Linked DNA regions of Homo sapiens: all the other regions are linked to region 2. Evidence: promoter capture Hi-C in 16 types of primary human blood cells and fetal thymus (Javierre and others, 2016). All regions are on one chromosome and are shown on one strand. Each heading gives the region's core, a stretch centred on a gene start or on the middle of the fragment in contact. The rest is flanking DNA. Distances are from core to core; before and after follow the strand shown.

Region 1 (3,535 bases), core at 955-3,454, 240 kb after region 2:
GCAAAAGGCAGGAACCCCTGACTTTTACAGAAGGAAAAGCCTGTTATAACAGCCATGGAAATTCTCGTGATTAATTGGAACCAGCAGTGATGGATTTGAGATAGTGAGACAGGCCTCCATGTAGTCTTCAATGAGCAAAGAATGCCTGAGCTAATTCATTCATTCAGCAAAGGCTTCCGGAGTGCCCACCTCTTGCCAGGCACCAGAATCCTCGCAGTGAGCAAAACTGGTACATGTTCTCCCTATAGTTTGTAGAGAAAGACAGAAGATGGTATTAAGAGCTGGAAAAGAAGTCAAGGATTGGGTAAGGAGTGGCTATGTTAGGTAGAAAGATCAGGGGAATGACTCCGATTGAGTGACATTTATGCTAAGACCTGAATGTCAAGAAGCTGGTCATGGAAAGATCCAGGAAAGATTTCACTTATATGTGGGATCTAAAAAAGTTGAACCCATAGAAAACAGAGGATAGAATATTGGTTGCCAGGGGCTGGGAGGGGGGTGGTTGGGGAGATCTTGGTCAGAGGGTACAAACTTTCAGTTATAAGATGAATATGTCCTAGGGATCTAATTTACCGCAGGGTGACTCTAGTTAACAATACTGTATTATGTATTTGAAATTTGCTGACAGTAGACCCTAAATGTTCTTGCTACACACACACACACAAATGGTAACTAGGGTGAGGTGACAGATATGCTAACTAACTTGATTGTGGTAATGATTTCACAATGTATATGTATATCAAATCAACACATTGTACCTCTCAAACTTTCACAATTTTATTTGTCAATTATACCGCAATGAAGTTGGAAAAAATTAAATTTAAAAAAAGATCCAGGAGAAGAACAGTAGATGCAAATCTCTGAAATAGAAAGGAGTCTTGGCATGCTTGAGGAACAGGAAAAAGGCCAGTGTGACTGGAACAAGTGAACAAGAGGAAGGCAGAGTTGGAAAAGCAGAAAGGAGCTGGCTGCGGCAAAGGCATCACTATTGCTGCAGTGGCAGAGAACTATTTTCAACAATGACACTCCGGTGACAAATCTTTGGTTTCGTGGGTGATTGGCAGGCTCTTCTGTACACACTGACACAATGAGTAACTTGGGTCTGTCTAGTGGAAGATTTCAACCTTGGGAAGCCATCCTCTCCCCTAAAGCCTTTTCTCCTTGTTCAAGATGTCTGAAACTATACCAAGAAGGCAGAAAAGGATGTGATTCCTCTGTGATTCCAGAATAAGATGTCTGGCTTTGAAACCAGACAATCATAGGTTTTAGTTTCAGCTCTGTCACCTTTTAGTTGGCAAGTTATTGAAACAACCTGAGCTTTGTTTCCACATCTGTAAAATGGGAATAACATAGACTATCTTACTCACAGGGTTGTTGTAGGCATTTTGTGAGACAACACACATAAATCATTTACTGCCGCAGCTGGCATATAATAGTAGCTGCATACAAATGTTATTCTTATCCAAGAAGCTTCATTTCTCTCATTTAACATGTTGATGGAAGTTAAACAGAAAGTCTATCTGGAGTAATCACACCGTAACCTGTTATTTGTCATTTGTACTTTAGTGTGAATGAGTCTGCAATTCTTTCTCCAAAGCTCTACAAAGTTGAATTTAAGAGAAAGAGAGGGCTGGGTGCGGTGGCTCACGCCTGTAATCCCAGCACTTTGGGAGGTCAAGGCAGGCGGATCACTTGAGGTCAGGAGTTTGAGACCAGCCTGGCCAACATGGTGAAACCCCATCTCTACTAAAAATACAAAAAATTAGCCGGGCGTGGTGGCAGGCGCCTGTAATCCCAGCTACTCGGGAGGCTGAGGCAGGAGAATCGCTTGAATCTGGGAGGCAGAAGTTGCAGTGAGCCGAGATTGTGCCACTGTACTCCAGCCTGGGCAACAGAGCGAGACTCTATCTCAAAAAAAGAAAAAAGAGAGAGAGAGATTGAAAGACAGACCAAGATTCCGGATTACAGATGCGGCCAGAGGAAAGAGGAGAAAACTAGTTGGGGAAGAAGGGGTACAATCTCTGAAGTCTTCAGTGTTTAAATTCCTTAAAAACTATTAATAAAGGGAAAGAAGCCAGCATTAATTCTGACTTTCCTGTACAAACTGCACTTCAGAGTTACAAATGCTTATAAGAGAAGTTTCTCTTCCAGACCAGTATTCTGGCTAAGGCGTAGGAAGCAAAGATAGAACTGGAGTATTACCACTGAGCAACCTCTAATGAGCTAAGGGACTGAGTTAATCCGTGCATCAGGACTGCTCACATCATAGAAGGAGAGAGAACTCAGCATTTTGTGTCTCCAGATAGAAGTACACACACTACCACCTATGAGATATTTCTGCCCTAAACTCAAGCTAAATGTTTACATCTAACTATCATTTTGATAGCAATACAGAGAACAGAGGAACAGGTTAAACATCACGAGGAAGCAATCAGCAAAATCCAGACTATGGGAAACTCTACTGGAGAAAACATCCAGTTTCTTCAACAAATAAATTGCAACGAAACAAAAAAAAAAAAAGAGCATGAGGGGAAACCTGTAGATTAGAAAAGTTTTGGCTGGACACAGTGGCTCACGCCTGTAATCTCAGCACTTTGGGAGGCCAAGGTGGAAGGATCATTTGAGCCCAGGAATTCTAGACAAGCCTCGACAACATAGTGAGACCCCATCTCTAAAAAAAAAAATTAGCCAGGCATGGGGGCACATGCCTGTGGTCCCAGCTACTCAGGAGGCTAAGGCAGGAGGATCACTCCAGCCCGAGAGGTCAAGGCTGCAGTGAGCAGTGATTTTTGCCACTGCACTTCACCCTGGGTGACACAGCAAGACCTTGTCTCAAAAAAAAGAAAGAAAAGATTTAAGTGGTATCCCAACCAATCACAACATAGGCACCTATCAAAAATCCTGATTCAGACAAACCAACTATAAAAGTAAAAGCTTATAATAAAATCAGTGAAATGTGACTGGATATCTGATAATATTAAGGAATTGCCAATAATTTTTTAGGTGTGGTCATCATATTACAGTTACTTTTTAAAGAGTCATGGCTTATGCCTGTAATCTCAGCACTCTGGGAGGCCAAGGCAGGTGGATCACAAGGTCAGGAGTTCGAGACCAACCTGGCCAACATGGTGAAACCCCATCTCTACTAAAAATACAAAAAATTAGCCAGGTGTGGTGGCGGGCGCCTGTAATCTCAGCTACTTGGGAGGCTGAGGCATGAGAATTGCTTGAACTGGGGAGGTGGAGGTTGCAGTGAGCTGAGACCATGCCACTGCACTCCAGCCTGGGCAACAGAACAAGACTACGTCTCAAAAAAATAAAAATTAAAAAATAAAGAGTCCTTAACTTTCAGAGATATATGCTGGAATATTTACACATATTTGCATTTATGATATGTGTATTTATAGATATATATTTACATATATAGATACATATAAACATCTGTATAATACCTGGAACTTACTTCAAATTAATCCAGCAGGGGGACGGGGAAAATGGGTTCAGGACACACTACCCCAAAATATGACACCTTGGC
Region 2 (3,508 bases), core at 389-2,888:
GGCAGTGCCATGGATGAGGGCTTCTAATTCTCTTTGGTGATTTGGTTCTGCATAAACTGAGATTTTTCTTTCAGTCTTTCAGCCAGATAAGTAGGAAAGGTCGGCTCTCGTCCTGAGAGAGAGGCAATCAAGGTCAATTTCAGTTCCTTTTCTGTGCAGTTTAGTCTACTTTTTCCCAGGCTGTCTTCCTGACACCTGTCCTTATATCTATATCTGATTATCAAATACTTAGTGAGAGAACCTTTGGCAGCTTCTGATGCTCGCATAGTCACCCAAAGGCCTCTCAGCCTAAGAAATAGCAGGAATACACTCCAAATCAGTTTCCTTGAGAGGCCAAACTAAGACCCTAGGCTGTGAAAGTGGGAGAAGTTTCTCCCGTGGGTATTTTGAGGGTGAGGTGGAGAATAATGCTTTCTCTCACCAGAGGCAATGCTGATCCAACTTGCCTATTACCAAATCTCTAATTTTTGGTTTGGCACTGCAGCCACAATATACTCAGTTATTACCGAATATAGAAAGAGAAAGGCAAATCTTGTTAGTCCCATTCAGAAGATGGTGAAATGGAGGTTTAAAAGTTTAGAAGAGTTGCCTAAAGTGAATTCGACAAAGCAGTGTTGTAGCTAGAAAGTAGACCAGCTGACATCTGTCCCTGGTTTTGTAGGTCACAGTTTCTTTGCAAGTTTAGAGCAGTGCTTTACTTACCATATTCCTCCTTGCAAACCTCTATTTACTTTCTTAAACAGTGGATACCAGTGGAGAGGTGTGCATTCCAGACACTTATACAATGTACACAGACCGAGCCGTCTACCTGTTGGGCACACAGCTCCAGGCTCAAGAATCTCTAAGGCTGTTAAGAAGCACAAACGAGGCACGAGAGGGGGCAGGCTCTAATGTAAAAGGAATATCCTGTACCACTGCAAAGGCCGATTGAAAACATCCTCTTCATCACTATTAATAAAAAACTAACCAATATATTCTGTGCTTTTTCAAACTGTACTGCTCACCCTCAGTGTCTTCATTAAATAAATGCAAACACGTGTGCTTTGAAACGGGTAGGTGTAAAAGAACACTCTGCACAATTATATCTAGGCTGCCGCAGATTTACATCACATGCATACATATATCTAGGCGATATTAATTCACGATGACAGCTGAGCATGACAAATGCAACAGTACACAAGTTGGAATGCGAAAACAATGCAACTACAAACCCCATGCAGACAAACACGCATACAATGAGTTTTCCCTCAACACACACGTGGCCGCACTCACAGGAGCTTAACCACTTTGAAAAACCCCAAACACAAACACCGGGGGCTCCGGCGCCCGCGAGCGGCCCCCACACAGGCAGCCGCGCCTTCATCTCCAGGCAGGGATTCTCGTGCGTCCCCGGGTACACTCGCCCTCCCACCGGCATCCCACTGCGCGAACACATGCGCGCCAGCCGGTCCCCGCGCGCGCCCGCCTGCCGAGGAAGCGGCGGCTCCCGGGGCTGGGGGCAGGGCCCGGTGGGGCGGGAGCGCCGCGGGGCCGGGCCTCGGCGCCCGGGGAGGGGACGAGGGGCGGGCGCGGGGCGGTGCCCGGCTCACGTGGGCGGGCGGGAGCAGCTGAAGGTCCGCTCGGGAACCTGGGCTGTCCTCTCGCGCGCGGCGCTGGCCCAGGCGGCGGCGGCGAAGGAGGAGGAGGAGGAGGAGGAAGGCGGCGGTGGCGGCGGCAAAAGAGGAGGGAGGACGGGGGCGGCGTCGGACTGGAGCCGAGCGGCAGCGCGAGCTGCCCAGGGCGCTGTCGTGAGCTCGCCCGCCGGGCCCCCACCCCCGAGCTACACCCTGCCGTGCCCAGCACTGCCCGCGTCCGTGCCCCTGCGGGGAGCGCGCCGGGGCTGCCCCCCGAATGACGGGCGGAAGGTTCGACTTCGACGATGGCGGCACCTACTGCGGCGGCTGGGAGGAGGGCAAGGCGCACGGGCATGGCATCTGCACGGGGCCCAAGGGCCAGGGCGAGTACTCGGGCTCCTGGTCGCACGGCTTCGAGGTGGTCGGAGGCTACACCTGGCCCAGCGGCAACACCTACCAGGGCTACTGGGCGCAGGGCAAGCGGCACGGGCTGGGGGTGGAGACGAAGGGCAAGTGGATGTACCGGGGGGAGTGGTCACATGGTTTCAAGGGGCGCTACGGGGTCCGGCAGAGCCTGTGCACCCCCGCTCGCTACGAGGGTACCTGGAGTAACGGGCTGCAAGACGGGTACGGCGTGGAGACCTACGGGGACGGAGGTGAGCGGCGTAACGGGCGGCTCGGCTGCTCCGCGAGCTGGTGCGGTGGGCTCTGCCCCGGCTGCGGGGAAGCGGGGAGGACGCCGGGCGCACGTGTCCGGAAACCCGCCAAAACACCTGGGGGCGCCTCCCACCCCCGCGCCCGCGCCCGCCTTTCCCAGAGAGGGCGCTGGGACCGGACTGGGGCGCGAGGGCTGGATCTGACCCCGTTCTTGGAGCGGGCCGTGTATCCACACTCAGGGGAGCTAGGCGTGAATGTACCTGGCCGGCGCCAGCGCTGCGCTGCCACCGGGAGGGAGCGCCGCCCGGGAGGGTTGGGCTGGAGAGAGGACGCTGTCACTTGAGCCCGTCACATTACGTTCCTGATCCCTCCCTCTCCCGGCCGGGTTTGAAATCGCCACTCCCGTGGAGTTAGAGCGAACACCCTGAGCGGGTGAGGTTGGCGGTCCGTGCTGACCGCTCCCGGGATTGGTTTCACGTGGAGTCGTATTTCGCTTCTGGTCCTCCAGTAGCCTAAAGATAGAAGCCAGAACCCCGTAACTAGGATGTTGGGGAATTGTACCTTATTTGGGGGTGCATTTGGAAACGTCCTAGTTATGGGAGCAGAAAGGCCACCTGATGCAGGTGGAGTTCAGAGTGTGTGAGTTCCTAGTTTTCATTCCGTTTCTTAAAGTATTGGTCTTAAAAGAGTAGCAGTCTTTGCTGACCTGGAGATCTTGGACAAATTACTAGGAAGATATTTTAGAAATGGGTAATGAAGTCTACATTTTAAAGAATACAATTAGCAGGTGTGTTCCTATAGCTGCTAAGTTAGCAGCTACTACTCCTGAGAATGGCAATACTGAAACAATAATTTGCATTATGTGTGACCTAAGCCAGTATTCCTGGCTGTGAACAAAGATCACCTTATTTTAATATTTAACAATATTTGCCAAAGAGATTGTGTATATACCAGGACAGAAGTTCCTCTTTTATTAGGAAAAGTATACATTATTGAAACAGGTGTCAAAACCTGATGAATTTCCTTGTGTAATACGCTGAGAAAGATATTCATGAATAGCTTATGCTTTAGCAAAGTGCATTTCCTGATAAACATAATCATATTTAGTTGAAAAGGGTTGTAGGAGGCGACATCACTTTTTGGAATTAAGCAGCTCAGAGTTGGAGGATATTAAAGGGATGCAATTAAAAGTTTCTCCAGCCCACTGCAACCCCATTTATACCATTGCTTATATAAAA
Region 3 (3,823 bases), core at 1,270-3,769, 210 kb after region 2:
CCAGTTAAGCCCTGTGACGAGCTGTCGAGGTAGACAAGGTAGCAGCTATATTTTATATTAATAAGTTGTCCCTCACACCCGCATTACTTTATATGAAGGACACTGGTGATTGTTGACATTTTAGTTTTCAGCTGGGAGTATGACCAGATTGATGATATCAATGTCAGTGATGTGGAAACTGATGGGATTTTGTATGTTTCCTGTATTGGAACACAACCTTTTAGCTATGTAAAGGACAGAAGTGGATAGAGAGAGGCAAGAGGAATGGACCATGCTGGATATCTTCTGTTTTCTCCTCTAGACCCACTCTCCACCCTCCTCTACCCTCCTTAACATCTGTTCTCTGCACCCCAAAGGCTGAACTCTAAAGAATATATCAATCAGCATCCTAGTCTCCTGACTTCTGCTCAGGTTCAGCCAATGAAGAACACCATTAAATAATGAGGAGATGAGAGGACAGTAGAGTGAGAATGGGGTGTTTATTCCCTCCACCCACCTCTCTCATTGCAGAGTCCCCCCAGTCCCTGCTGTAACCCTCCTCCTAAGTTTAGCTCTGGCCAGGGACCCTCTCCAGCCAGCACTCTCTCTCTCTGGGTTCCAGTAACTGCTTCCCCCACTCCACCATTTTAACCATGCCTTGCTAGCCCCTAGATCCTACACTATCCCTTGTAAGTTCCCTACACCCTGTCCTGTGAATAATCCCCTTTATTACATTCTCTTTAACTTATCCTATGACTGTGCCATCTGTTTGCTGCTGGGATACTGATTGACAGTATCCTTCACCCTGACTAAAACATGAGTTCCTTGAGGGCAGAGTCCAGGTCTTATTTATAAATCATTGGATTCTCCAGAGCTTAATGAATACCTGGTATGTAATGAGTGCTCATTAAACATTCAAGTGAATAAATTAGTAAGTGATAAAATACAAATATCTGTGAGACAGGACAAACTATAAGTAGCATAAGAACAGGTCACCACACACAAGGAAAAACAAGCAGGGCTGAAATCCAGTCTGCACAGAGCTGGCACAGAGCTACCTTAACCCAGACCCAGAGCAAGGGGTACTTTTTTGTAATTGGTCCAATCAGCAGGGTTCCTTTTTGTAATATGCACAAAGAAATGGTATATTCTAGCAGACGGCCTTGCATAACAAAAAGATATGACCTAAGTACTTTAGGCAGCAAAATTTAAAAGAGAAAGTCCATATTAGCTTGGAGATGTTAAAGAAAGACTTCAGCTAGTAGAGGTCTTCTGATTACATTTATCATGAGATAAATGCATTGCTATTCAGTTGTTTACTTACATCATCTTTACCGTTTTTTAATTTTCTGTAAGGATGTAGCAGGGTATTTTTAGCCAAGCCTACATAACCTCAGACGGATCACAATAGGATTATTTTCAACCCTGGTCCAATTCATTGAGGACTAACTTAGTCTACACAAGCAGTAATGGGAGATGCTTTCAAATTCTTAATACATGACTCAGCTGTGTAAATAAGTGGTGGCAAATGAAGCCGACCAAATTTTTCAGGTGTTCTGATTTGGTCACCTGAAGTGTACAAGGACTCATACAAAGCTTGAGCCCTTTCTATTTAAAAAAAAAAAAAAAAAGTACAAGACCAATAAATAATTGGTTTAGGTTGCTAAACCGAGATCTAAATACTCTGAGATAAACAATTAAATACATAAATAGCAATGCCATGTATGCTTTAATCCCATCTTAAACCTTAAAAAACAGTGCAGAAAAATAATGCCAAAAGCTTAAGTAAAAATTGCTGTCAATAAGACAAATCAAGGATTAACTCCACTAAAATACTTTCCTTTATTTGGGAAATCCAGTTTCATTTCAATTACTTATAGGAAATGCTGAATCTGATTTTTTTTCAACGGTAATTTAAAACAAAATCTTTGTGATAGACTAAAATGCTCTGGTATTAGCATTTGTGAGACTCTCGGATACTTAGTAAAAATTACAGGGTTTGAGGTTTAGTGAAAGGAGAATTAGTGAGCCTTCACATTCATAAAGAAGAGTTTATTTTAAGATTTCCATAGCAAAAGTGGATTACTCAATAGAGAACTCACACACTTTAATGATTGTATCTGACCAGGCCTTTCAGCAACAAATAAGGCAGCTTTTCTTACTGTGCTTGTCTGGGTTAATTTAAACCACACCTGTTAAGAAGAGTGCCTAGAGAATTTCTGCAAGTTTTGACCCGCATCTCCTCATTTAGAGCTAATTAGAGTGTTTCTATATCATATTTATGTCTGGGGTTCCAGAACCCTCTAATGGGGAGCAAAGCACATTTGCCATCTTATGGGTCACTCCCTGGAGAAAATGTCTCCTATTACCTTCTCTCTGATACTCAACCTTTTTTTTTTTCCCTTGCATAATGGAAAGAACATTGTTTTGAGTCAGGCTGTTTTGGATTCAGATTCCAATATTTCCATTTTTTTAAGCTGTGCAAACTCTAAGATCCTGTTTCCCCATTTATAAAATGGGCTAATAATAACTTTTATGGGACTGTTATCAGGTATATCAAAAATGCATATAAAGTGTCTATTTTAGTACCAGGCATTTAGTAAGTAGTAGTAACAATAAAAATAGTAGTCATCAATATCCTTGCCATTATTATTATAATTACTCCTATCCGGACTTCTAAGATACCAATTTGATTTCAAGAACCTGCAGTGGTTAGGAAGTTAAATTATTCAAAGTTATTCAGGAAGGCAGGGTGAATCACTAGTGAGTCAGTAGTATTTTATTCAATGATATGTAGACTAGTGATGGTAAGAGAGGCTTTTTGAAGCCATTTTACTATATAAAACATATGTATAATTAAACAGGATTCTTTCCCAACTGCAGTCAGAGAACTGCTACAGATCAGAATTTAAATAAGATCTGTGAAACCTAAATAACCCTCAGAGCACTGCAGAAATGAGGTTTTCATTTGTTAATGTTGATCCAAGTCTTAACATACTCTGTGAGCAATGGACAGCTTTCAATATTGCCTAAAAAATAAAATCTCCAGAAAATGATTTTTGCCACTTTGGTTGCTGTCATTGTTGCCATTATTCATTTAAATATCAATTATATCTTTTCTGTCACATAAACAAAATGTCCAAATCACTTGAAACAGCTATATCCACGCACATCTTGGGTAAACATTGCAATAACAGATGGTTTAAGGGGCCTATCCTATAGAACCATAAATCCCAACATTCCGGCCATATTATAATATCCGTGTTGGAATGAAGTCACATGAAGAATTAGAAAAGCTTTCACACAGTGATTAATACATTGTATTTTCTAACATTTCCTACCTTTCTTCTTCCCATGACTTTCTGAAACTGTTATCTAACAGCAAATAATTTGCCCCATTCTTTCAAGATGTCAGATGCCATGTTTTTTTATTTGAATGATTTGATCTAAGAAAAGTGGCTTGGAAAAGCATTAGTAATGTCAGGTTTTATAACAAACCATGTGGGTGGAAGGTTTTGTTGGGTTGGATTTTTTTTTTTTTTTTTTTGGCTGACAGCAAACAAGTCTATCTGAAAACATACTAAGCTCCAGCAGGTGCCCAGAGCTAATTTGGTTTGGAACTATTTTTAAAAACCACCAGCTAAGTTTTATAACAAGTCATACCAAATGGCTATATTGTTTTTTGTTTTCCTGCAATCCAGGGGCCAGTTTTTCAAACATGACTCTAAACCTGAGGCCGCAAATTATTCCTGTACTAAGCAGATCTAAAATGCCCAGATTTTAGATCCTTAAGCCTTCTCATCGATCCCTAGAAACAAAACATTTAGAGCTTTGCACTTAAGTT

What was found. The method cuts DNA at HindIII sites, captures the fragments that hold promoters and counts their contacts. A CHiCAGO score of 5 or more calls a contact.
Region 1: a fragment that was not itself captured here is called in contact with the fragment with the promoter of JPH1 in region 2 in 1 of 17 cell types (endothelial precursors); the score reaches 6.5 in endothelial precursors.
Region 3: a fragment that was not itself captured here is called in contact with the fragment with the promoter of JPH1 in region 2 in 1 of 17 cell types (endothelial precursors); the score reaches 5.7 in endothelial precursors.

The regions. Positions count from the first base shown.
Region 1 is chr8:74,083,008-74,086,542 of GRCh38, reverse strand. It overlaps a transcript of LY96 not described here. Among named protein-coding and RNA genes, the nearest start is that of LY96, 93 kb to the right of the region's middle. The HindIII fragment of the contact is 1,464 bases long and covers 1,473-2,936 here.
Region 2 is chr8:74,319,670-74,323,177 of GRCh38, reverse strand. It overlaps JPH1 (junctophilin 1), which reads left to right and starts at 1,638. Exons shown (of 6, transcript NM_020647.4): 1 at 1,638-2,269. The coding sequence starts at 1,891. RefSeq lists a silencer at 1,488-1,587 and an enhancer at 1,681-2,571. The HindIII fragment of the contact is 5,373 bases long and covers 1-3,508 here.
Region 3 is chr8:74,109,028-74,112,850 of GRCh38, reverse strand. No RefSeq gene overlaps it. Among named protein-coding and RNA genes, the nearest start is that of LY96, 120 kb to the right of the region's middle. The HindIII fragment of the contact is 1,516 bases long and covers 1,762-3,277 here.